4 separate regions of the Homo sapiens genome follow, and all the other regions are linked to region 4. Evidence: promoter capture Hi-C in 16 types of primary human blood cells and fetal thymus (Javierre and others, 2016). All regions are on one chromosome and are shown on one strand. The core of a region is centred on a gene start or on the middle of the fragment in contact, and the rest is flanking DNA. Distances in the headings are between cores, read along the strand shown.

Region 1 (2,700 bases), core at 163-2,662, 1.4 Mb after region 4:
CCAACATGGTGAAACCCTGTCTCCACTAAAAATACAAAAAAAAAACTGGCCAGGAGCAGTGGCTCACACCTGTAATCCCAGCACTTTGGGAGGCCGAGGCGGGTGGATCACCTGAGGTCAGGAGTTCAAGACCAGCCTGACCAACATGGTGAAACCCTGTCTTTACTAAAGATACAAAAAACTAGCTGGGCTTGGTGGCAGATGCCTGTAATCCCAGCTACTCGGGAGGCTGAGACAGGAGAATTGCTTGAACCCAGGAGGCGGAGGTTGCAGTGAGCCAAGATTGCACCACTTCACTCCAGCCTGGGTGACAGAGCGAGACTCCATCTCAAAAAAAAAAAAAAAGAAAGAAAGAAACCAATATTCTGACCTCTGGAGATGAACAGTCAGGTGTGATCAAAAACAAGACTCGTGAGTCCAAATACTGAAACCAAGGTGCAAATGTTCACCTGCTGTGTCAGTTTGAGTACTACAGGAAACAGAAGCCAAGATGGAATTAGAAGTATAAGATATATTAGGGGAAATGCCTATGAAGGAAAAAGGGAAGCGAGAGCAAGAGCAGGTGGTAAGGGTCTGAGACCACAAGGAAGTTCTGACACCTGTCAAGGAAGAGAAGGAAGGAAGGAAGATTGGGTAGGAAGAGTATCTGATTGCAGCAAGGCTTTGAGGAAATCTGGGCCAAGTCGATGGGAAGCCCAGGTCAATGATTGCCCGGTGAAGGAGTCCAGCACTGGGCAGAAATGGCCTGGCTCCAGCACACCTTTCTCAGTCATTGCTGGGAATAGCCCTACAGAGAGTATGCCGTTGGCATAAATGATCCCAGAGGAAGACAGCAGGAAGCTGTCAGTCAACCACACTCCTTGCAACTGGTTCTCTTGAAAGTAGGTCTGAATGGTGCTTTTCCATGGCTGCCATACCCATGTACCATGAATTAAACTCCCCCAAGGGAACTCTAGGGAGGTGACCGCATGAAATAAGCAGTCAGTGTCCATTGTCTACACTGCTTCTCACAACACACATCATTAACATAACTGAGTATATATGTATATATATATTTTTTTTGAGATGAGTTTCGTATGCGATCTCAGCTCACTGCAACCTCCACCTCCCGGGTTCAAGCGATTCTCCTGCCTCAGCCCCCCGAGTAACTGGGATTACAGGCATGCGCCACCACGCCCAGCTAATTTTGTATTTTTAGTAGAGACAGGGTTTCTTCATATTGGTCAGGCTGGTCTCGAACTCCCGACCTCCGGTGATCCACCCACCTTGGCCTCTCAAAGTGCTGGGATTACAGGCGTGAGCCACCACATCCGGCCTTTTTTTTTTTTTTTTCCTTCAAAACGTGTGTTGGTTTGGCCTTACTAAAAGTGTCAGCTCATTTAGTAAAAAATATATGTTTTCCTGAAGAAGAGTGGGTGGAGCATTTTCTCATTTATTTTTCTACCATGAACATATTTGAATTGCCACAAAGAAGTTACTATGGAAACTGCTCTCGAACTTGCAAGATAAAAGGTAAAAATGGAACACTTTGTTGAAATGCAAATAGTCTCTGGAGATCACTTTTTAACAAAGTCTCCGGGTCTGATTTTTCTGAGTCCTTTAAAGGCTCTCTTGAATTAGAAGCGGACAGGCAGATTTTTTGGCTTTACATTCCAGATGGCTCCAGCTGACTGTGCAAATGTCACAGGTGACAACTCTAGGATGGGTCTAGACGTATGCAAACTTGGTTTTGGAATGAGCAAAGAGGCTGACAGTGCCCTGCTGTGAACACCCAAACAGGCCCAGGGGAGGGAAGGTGGTTGTTTCTGGGCCAGGCCCGTTCTGCAGGTGTACTCTGGACTCACTTGTTTGAAAGTTAACTTGCTGAGCTCTTATTTATGCAAAGTAGTTTCTCTTTCTTATCTCCTCTGGCCACATTCCATCTCTGGGATCTTGAGCTGGATAGTCTTTTCAACAAAAAAACACAAACTTCTTATTTGAAAGCCCTATTCCTCTACCCATCTCTGCTCATCTTTACCTGCCTCTCCCCACCCACCTCTCCAACTCACTTCATATCAGCCCAAGTACTCCTACCATTACAAAGCTCTGAGATAACTTTGGATTTCTGCTTGTTGTAATTTTCTGCCTGTCAATTCCTTCAACCTTGCTTCTTTCTCTTGGGGCCTCAATCCGAAAGCCTTACTGAAACTTTTTTCAAAGCTGCTTTCGGTAATTAAGTGAATGCAACTTGGAGAGGGTTTCCTGTAGTCTCAGCTACTTGAGAGACTGAGGTGGGAGGATTGCTTGAGCCCAGGAGTTTCAGATCAGCTGGGGCAACAGAGTGAGACCTCCAGCTCAAAAAAAAAAAAAAAGAAAAAGAAAAAGAAAATAGAAAAGAGGTGGTTTCACTTGAGGGACCAGGGTCCGAGGTTGTTTATTTGGGATTATTGTTACCTAGCTTCATGACTAGCAACCATCAATTTCACTTCTTTGTGAATTGGAGTCTTTATTTGATCCTTTCGAGGGATCCTTCCATTTCAACCTCCTAAGTAGCTGGCCTCACAAGAGTGTGCCCCAACGCCTGGCTTTTTTTTTTTTTTTTTTTTTTTTTTTAAAGACTGGGCTGGCAGGGGGATCTCACTTTGCTGCCCAGGCTGGTCTCAAACTCCTGGGCTCAAGTGATCCTCCTGCCTTGGCCTCCCAGCCTCCCAAAATGCTGGG
Region 2 (2,700 bases), core at 17-2,516, 1.2 Mb before region 4:
CTTCACCCCATCCTGGTTCTGCAGCCCTCAAAGGGGATGGAAAAGATCCCAGTGGTTAATCATGGAAGGGCAGAGGCCTTGGACAGCCCCTGGACCAAGGAATAGAAGGGCCCACCTGGGAAAGGTGTGGGAAGAGAGGCAGGCTGCCATTCTCAGGAGGGACAGGGTTTTCAGCCGTGGAGAAGAGGGTGATTCTCTACACAAGGACCTCCCCATGAGCAGAGGCCACCAGCATCGTGCAGAGCACAACAGCCAGAACGAAGCCAGCACACTTCCCATAACCAACAAGTGGCCTGTCACACGAGCAGACTCTTTTCTCCCTCCAGCCGTCCTCCCAGGCTTGGGGCTGGACTAAGCCCCTATGAGGGTCATAACACCGGAAGGGGAGAAGGGACATGTGTGGTGAGCAGAGCATACACATGGGCTTTTGCCAAGCCCTCGCCTGTACTAGGGGAGAGGGAGAAGAGCCTGAAATAGGTGTGAACCTCAAGTTTTAAAATAAGCAAAGTTTAATTTTAACCAAAAGTAACTGGAAAGCTATGAAATCTGTCTGAATGCTGCTCAGCATCACCCACCACCCAGAAAGGAGGAAAGGAGAACAGGTCAACAAAACACAGTTGGTGGCAATAAAAAAAGAAAGAAACTCAGTTTATGTTTCCCCAGCAGAGCTGGAGCTTCTCAGTAAACAGGTTATACCTGGGCTTGGTGGGGCACAGACAGACAGGTGACCAGGAACTGTCTAGGGTAGGAGAAGCTGACCTCCTAGACCTGTGCCTGCCCCCACCACTCTCTCTCTGGAAACCTTGAAGTCAGGCTCCCTGGCCCTGATACCGTGTGATGCTAACAGTGGGTACAGTGCAGTCGCTGGGTCTCTAGAAACCTGGATCCCCAGGGACTGATGACATCTTTACTCATTTCAGCAAGTCCCTGAAGCACCTGCCACATGCCAGGCAGAGAATACACCAGTGCACAGGACACACCTCATCCTGCTCCCAGTAGAGCGGAGGAGAGGACCAGACACAGCCGAGCATGGTAAGTGCAAAGGCTTCTGGTAAGAAAAGCATCTCATTGGAGTACTAGAGATGGACAGGTTTGGCCAGGTGAATCAGGACAGGAAATTACACCCCCAAGGAGCCACCACAAGGCCGTGTGAGCCACACTGAGCAACTCAGACTTCATCCTGGTGGCAGAGGGACATCATTCCAAAGTAAATGAAGTGGGGAATGAGTGCTTGATGAGCATGGGTTTATTTTTGGGGGTGATGAAAGTGTTCTGAAATTAGACAGTGGTGATAGTTGCATATACTCTGAACTAAAAGCCACTGAATTGTACATTTTTAAATGAATTTTCTTATGTGAATGTTACCTCAAAAAAAAAAAAAAGGCCGGGCATGGTGGCTCACGCCTGTAATCCAAGCACTTTGGGAGGCCAAGGCCGGCAGATCACGAGGTCAGGAGATCGAGACCATCCTGGCGAACACGGTGAAACCCTGTCTCTACTAAAAATACAAAAAAAAAAAAAATTAGCTGGGCGTGGTGGTGGGCGCCTGTAGTCCCAGCTACTCGGGAGGCTGAGGCAGGAGAATGGCATGAACCCGGGAGGTGGAGTTTGCAGTGAGCCAAGATTGCACCACTGCACTCCAGCCTGGGCGACAGAGCAAGACTCCGTCTCAAAAAAGAAAAAAAATGAAAGGAATATCTAGAAGGAACTTTCAATTCCAATCAAGATGGAGTAACAGGGACCAGATTTACTCTCCTGCCTGAAACTAAAAAACAAGACAAAATATATGAAATGAGGGCTGCCCAAAGAGTGAACATCAGGCGACAGAGAACAGCGATGCCTGAGGAATGTGAAATAAGTGAGGTGAGGCCGATGACTATCCTTACTGGCTACTTTTGAGTTTCCAGGCCTCAGAGTGGGGAAGAAAGGGAGGCAGGCAGAGCCCAGTGAATTTCCTGAGTTGAAGAGACAGAGCAGAGTCAGGCCAAGGCAGGCCAAGTTTGCAGAGCAGAGCACTGGAGAGGAGAGAGCTGCACAGAGAGAACCCTGGAAATTTGCAGAGGGTCTCCCTGTAGTATTCAGAAGAGCACTGATCCATATAGCTGAAAAGATCAGAGGGAAGAATTCCTGAAGCCCACACAGGGCTGGGAATAGTGTCTGCTCCCACCAGCTAGACAGGAAAACCTCATAATTCAGGGGGCAGCAGAGTCCTAAGCATCTCACACTTCAGTAGTAGGGGGAAATGAGCCCTGGGCTAAATGCTGCTCTGGTGATGCCTAACATTAAAGGCAAGTCTCAAATGAATCAAATTGCTTCTAGGTACCTTACCCATACTCTAGAACAAAGTTTAAGAATATTAATAGAAATGTAAAAATACCCAGCATGAAAAAAGGTAAAATCCATGGCTGGCATGGAAAGTAGAAAAATACAACTTGTAATAAGAAAGAAGAAATGGTAGCAAGATAATGGCATTCCTGACTGTTAGCTCCTACTATAAGAAGGTACAGTATCCTGAGAGGCAGGCTCAGAGGTAGTGTAGAGAAATGCAGAAGGTTTACAGAGTTGTAAAGGTATGAATAAAGTCTGTCTTATTTCAAAAAGTGTCAGAACAAAATAGCAACAACCCCCACAAGATGCAAATTATCTGTATTAATGGAGGAGCATCTGCTTAAAGTTCTCAGTCTCAGCACACATTATGCA
Region 3 (2,700 bases), core at 49-2,548, 1.3 Mb after region 4:
TTTCAGACCCTGCATTTTGATGCAGCAGAGGGCGCCACCCAGACCAGTAAACCGACTCATCTGGTCTTGTGGCCTCTACTCAAAAACTGACTCAGCACAAGAGGACAGCCTTGACTTCCTATGATTTTTGTCTCCCACCCAACCAATCAGCACTCCCCACTCCCTGGCTCCCTACCCACAAAATTATCCTTTAAAATCCTCAGTCTCTGAATTGTCAGGGAGACTGATTTGAGTAATAATAAAACTCTGGTCTCCCATTCAACCGGCTCTGTGTGAATTAAAGTCTTTCTATATTGCAATTCCTGTCTTGATAAATTGTCTGTATCTGGCCAGTGGCAAATTAACCTGTTGGGTGGCTGCATGACAGTGGTAAATAAAAAGAATTATTTTGATCCTGATAAGGAACACTTTATTCAAAAGACTACTGTAATGGGGTTTTGTAGTAGGGGAGGGAGATTGGGCACAACTCCAAATACAACAACAACAACAAAAAAATGGGGATTTTGGCCAAGAAGCAGGGCAGAGGCATGAATGGATGGGAAATCACTAGGAGGGTAGGATAATTCTTGCTAAATTAGCCTAACAGGATTCTTGCTAAAGGCAGGCCAGGGTGATCAGATATCAAGGGTGAGGATTCTCTGTAAACTTACTGTCTTAGTTGATTTTGTGTTGCTATAACAGAATACCACAGACTGGGTAAGTTATAAAGAAAAGAAATAGCTGGGTGCAGTGGCTCACACTTGTAATCCCAGCACTTTGGGAGGTTGAGGCAGGAGGATTGCTTGAGCCTAAGGGTTCAAGACTAGCCCGGGCAACATAGTGAGACCTTGTCTCTACTAAAAATAAAAAATTAGCCAGGCATTGTGGCACACACCTGTGGTCCCAGCTACTCAGGGAGCTGAGGTGGGAGGATTGCTTGAGACCAGGAGGTCAAGGCTGCAGTGAGCCATGATTATCTCACTGCGCTCCAGCCTAGGTGACAGAGCAAGACTCTGTCTCAAAAAAATTTAAAAAAAGGAAAGAAAAGAAATATTTCTTACAGTACTGGAGGCTGGGAAGTCCAAGGTCAAGGGGCCCGCATCTGGAAAGGGCCTTCTTGCTGCATCATCCCATGGCAGAAGGTGAAAAGGCAAGAGAAGAGGCTGCGGTCACTTTTTTTTCTTTTTTTTTTTTTTGGAGACGGATGTCTCGCTCTGTCACCCAGGCTGGAGTGCAGTGGCGCGATCTCGGCTCACTGCAACCTCCTCCTTCCAGGTTCAAGAAATTAACCTGCTTCAGCCTCCCGAGTAACTGAGACTACAGGCACACGCTGCCATGCCCGGCTAATTTTTTTTTTTTTTTTTTTTTTTTTTTTGTATTTTAGTAGAGACGGGATTTCACCATGTTGCCCAGGTGGGTCTTGAACTCCTGAGCTCAGGCAATCCACCCACCTCAGCCTCCCAAAGTGCTAGGATTATAGGCGTGAGCCACTGCACCCAGCCTGAGCTCACTTTTTAAATAAATTCATTCTCATGATAACAAAAGCACTCCTGTGATAACAGCATTAATCCATTCATGAGGGTGGAGCCCTCATGAACAAATCGCCTCTTATTAGGCCCCATCTCCCAACACTGCTGCATTGGGGATTAAGTTTCCAACACATGAACTTTTGGGGACACATTCAAACCACTGCGCTAACTTAACAAGATTCTTGCTAAAACTGAGTGATGTGAGTCCAGCAAGGATGGACACTGAAGCTCAAGGCCTACAGGATTTAGAGGAGCCTCACTAGAGTTAGGTCCAGAAGGGATCTTTTGCCAGCAGTGACAGCTAACCTAGTCATGATGAGAGAGAAGCAAAACTTGCTGGAAGAAGACACATCTATGCCAAATCATGAAACATGAATACACTTTAGCCAAGCAGAGTGTAAAATTGGAAGATAAGAGCATCTCAGCCAGAGGAACCCACCTGTTCAAAGGCCAAAAGGTAAAAATGAGGATGGTACACACAGAAAACGGCAAAAGATGTAGCCTGGCTAGAGCCCACAGTGTACAGAAATGGAATTAAGGGTGTACCAATTAGCTATTGCTATATAACAAACCATGGCAAAACTCAGTGGCTTGAAATAATAACAGCATTATTGTTGCTCATGAGTCTATGGGTCAGTTGAGCAGTTCTTGTTTCAGTTAGGCTCATTCATGTATTGGCAGTCAGCTGAGAGCTGGGCAGGCGGCTCTCTTTTGCATGCCTAGGCATCCGCTAGCTGTAGACTGGTCTAGGATAGCCTTGGCTGTGACGACTGGGCTGTCTTCCAAATCAGCTCCCATTCTCCAGCAGCCTGGCCTGTCCACACGGTGGTGGCAGGGTTCCAAGAGAGAGCAGAAGTACTCCAGACCTCTTGAGACCTAGGCCCAGAATTGACACAGGACCACTTCCAGTGTATTTAAAAAGCCAAAGCAAGTCACATAGCCAGACTAGAGTCAAGGGGCAGGGAAATAGACTCCACCCCTTGATGAGAGAAGCTGCACAACATTTTTGCAAATCATGTGAACACAAGGAGGGAGAATTTGGTCTTTTTTTTTTTTTTTTTTGGCCTCCAAATCAACCTACTGTAGAGAGAGAGGATTGGCAAGATGTCAACCAAGAGAGACGGACAGGCCCAAATCATGAAAAGTCTTGTGTGCCAACCTCAGGAGTTGGAGAGGAAATGGGGAGCCATGG
Region 4 (2,700 bases), core at 139-2,638:
ATGCTCAAATTTGAGAGTCAGTACTACAGGCTCTTCAATGTTTTCAGCCTTAAAAAAAATGTGCCAGAGGGCATGGGCTCTATATGGTTAATAAAGCAGCATAAAAACGTTACGAAGCACCTATCCCACAAGTGGAAATTCCAAGTTGGCAAATGCCTTAAAGGGCCAAGCGAAACAAACACCATAAAAATTGTAAATGCATATGTCTTTAAGATTTGTTTAAAAGTTACTGAACCTTATTTCATCATTAAGACCGTTCACACCAATGAAGCAGTGTGATATAAATGCATGAGCTATTTTGCTTTCACATTTAACCTTCTTTCTTAGTATTTTGTATCATTTCAGATCCCATCAGATTTATAAGCTGAAAAATGATTTGGGGTGTGGGGAGGAGTGAAGTTGGCAAACCCAAACAAGCAAGCAAAGAATACACTTCCATATGGTCAACCTAGGGTCAAGAATAGCTGTTTAGGTTGGAGTTCTACCTAACATACTGTGTTGACTTTGCCTAGTCAATCCACCTCTTGGCCTCAGTCTTCTCAACAAGATGAGGCTACTAATATTCACTGGACAGGAGTAGTGTTAAGGTATGAAGTAACACCTGTGACAGCACTTTGTAAACTGTAAAACACAATACAAATGGTGTTCATGATGGAATAAAAACATGCTAAACAATTATCTCATTGAAGCTTCACAATCCTGAACCAACAGCTGTTGTCCTCATTATACAAATGAGAATCCTGAAAAGAAATTAAACTTGCCCGGGACCACAAACCTAAAAAGTGGCAAATGAAGAAATTTTAAAGTATAGCAGTAAAAGTAACACTTTGGGAATTAACGGGAGGTTAACTTTCAACAATCCCAGCAAAAGATAACCGTGAAGCACTAAGAACTCCGGCGAGAACCGCACACCAGCAACAACTGCGAGGTGGTGCAGGGTCGGGGGCTGTGCTAACTGACTTAGGGGAGCATTAGGAGGCAGGTGGAGGCTCCAGAACCAAAAAGGCCGGGATGCCTTCAACAAGGAGGTTGAGGGGAGGGATGGACAAGCCTGAGAAGACGGAGGAATGAAGTTTGGGGACGCAAAACCCACTGGGAAACAGAAAGCCCTCCAAATAGGCTAGACTGCTGGATGGGAGGACAGCGGCCCCCGCGACTAAGCGGGCCGGGGCTAGGGGCCTGGGCGTCAGACTAGGACAGACACTATCCCCAGCCCGCCGCAGTGCAAGCCACGCCGCGCGGGCCGCAAAGCCACTGTCCCCGAGCCCCAACAGCGTCTCCAAGGGCAGCGCGCCAGGGTGCCCCGCAACCCCTCACCTGGAGCGCGGTGGAACCTGCGGCAGCGGACGCAGAAACCGGCCGCTGAGAGACCGAAAGCGACCGGAAGTGAAGGGCGGGACCGGAACCGGCTGAAAAACCGGAAGTGGGTGGTTTGAAACGGAAATATGTTGGGGACGGAACAACTGCTTCCTTTGAATCTCTTCGGGTGCTAATCAAATGGCCGCTGTAAGGGATCTCCACAAAGCCACGAAGAAGCCAGGCCTTTCCGAGACTGTAACCGCTGTGCAGATAGCGCCGATCCCTGGGTGGCCGCTCTCTCGTTCTGCGCGTGCGCTCGTTCTGGGCTGGGAGCGGATGGGTGCTGAGGCGTGTGACGTCTCTAGTAGTGTCGTAACTGGGTGTGCTGCCTTTTCCAGGTGTACTGAGGTCTTCGTGAGATTCAGGGCTAGGACTCGTGTGGCTGTGTCATGTTCCGAATGAAGCTTAAAAGGTGATCTTTGAGAACTGAAGACTTGAGACCCCTCCATGGGCCCAGGGGCTGCCAACACTAATAATTTCAGAGACTTAGAATCTGAGGAGAATCTCCAATCTAAGGGGAAACGGAAGAGGGTCAGGAAAGAGAAGGGGCAAGCTTAAGTGACTCAGAATCCAAGAAGCAAGTCTCATAGGAGAGCTGCGATCGAGGTTACCATACAGTATCCAATCGTCTCAACCTTCCCATCCATACTTCCATGCTGTCTTTCCTCTGAATGCAAGGAAAACCGGTTACACAAACGCTGACAAAAGAATGTCAGACTTGAATGGAAATTCGGAGCAGTACCCATCTGGTCCATACAGCGAACTCCCAGTGAGCACCACGGCAATGTAACTAATTCATGTTTCCCTCTTGGCAGTGCGGGAAAGGCAGCAAAGAGCCAAGTTTTGTATCTTAACAGTTCTTTAGTTAAGAGGCACACGCTATTTTGCATTCTTCCCTACTTTTGATAATTTTTGGCTGCACTAGTAATGCATGAGTATCTGCTCATTTAAAAAACTCAAACTTTTTCAGTGAAAAGTATGCCCTTTTCTTCAGAAAGTCTTAATTAAAAAAAAAAAAAAAATCATTGCCCAGACCAACATTTTCAAGCATTTTCTCAAATCGTTTTCTTGGAATAGCTGCATAGTTTTGGGTCTTACATTGAAGTTTGGTGCTCATATGTGGGAGCTAAAAAAAAGTTGACTCCATGGAGATAGAGAGTAAAATTGTGGTTACCAGAGGCTGGGAAGGATAAGGAGGGAGAAGGAGATGAAGAGAAGTTAAAAGGAGCGAAAATATGGTTAGACAGAAGGAATAAGTTGTAGCGTTCCACAGCACAGTAGGGTGACTATAGTAATCAATAATTTATTTTGTATTTCAAAATAGAGGAGAAAGGTTGGGAT

Evidence for each region. The method cuts DNA at HindIII sites, captures the fragments that hold promoters and counts their contacts. A CHiCAGO score of 5 or more calls a contact.
Region 1: a fragment that was not itself captured here is called in contact with the fragment with the promoter of UBLCP1 in region 4 in 9 of 17 cell types (fetal thymus, naive CD8 T cells, naive CD4 T cells and 6 more); the score reaches 15.2 in fetal thymus.
Region 2: a contact is called between a fragment that was not itself captured here and the fragment with the promoter of UBLCP1 in region 4, in 1 of 17 cell types (total CD8 T cells). The highest score is 5.1, in total CD8 T cells.
Region 3: a contact is called between a fragment that was not itself captured here and the fragment with the promoter of UBLCP1 in region 4, in 1 of 17 cell types (fetal thymus). The highest score is 5.9, in fetal thymus.

Annotation. Positions count from the first base shown.
Region 1 is chr5:157,860,527-157,863,226 of GRCh38, reverse strand. No RefSeq gene overlaps it. Among named protein-coding and RNA genes, the nearest start is that of CLINT1, 2.7 kb to the right of the region's middle. The HindIII fragment of the contact is 5,007 bases long and covers 1-2,700 here.
Region 2 is chr5:160,430,590-160,433,289 of GRCh38, reverse strand. No RefSeq gene overlaps it. Among named protein-coding and RNA genes, the nearest start is that of PTTG1, 10 kb to the right of the region's middle. RefSeq lists an enhancer at 771-860. The HindIII fragment of the contact is 3,173 bases long and covers 1-2,700 here.
Region 3 is chr5:157,915,463-157,918,162 of GRCh38, reverse strand. No RefSeq gene overlaps it. Among named protein-coding and RNA genes, the nearest start is that of CLINT1, 58 kb to the right of the region's middle. RefSeq lists a silencer at 9-118. The HindIII fragment of the contact is 3,686 bases long and covers 1-2,700 here.
Region 4 is chr5:159,261,978-159,264,677 of GRCh38, reverse strand. It overlaps UBLCP1 (ubiquitin like domain containing CTD phosphatase 1), which reads right to left and starts at 1,388. Exons shown (of 11, transcript NM_145049.5): 1 at 1,318-1,388. RefSeq lists enhancers at 1,148-1,655, 1,412-1,721, 1,752-1,821, 1,656-2,163. The HindIII fragment of the contact is 1,074 bases long and covers 692-1,765 here.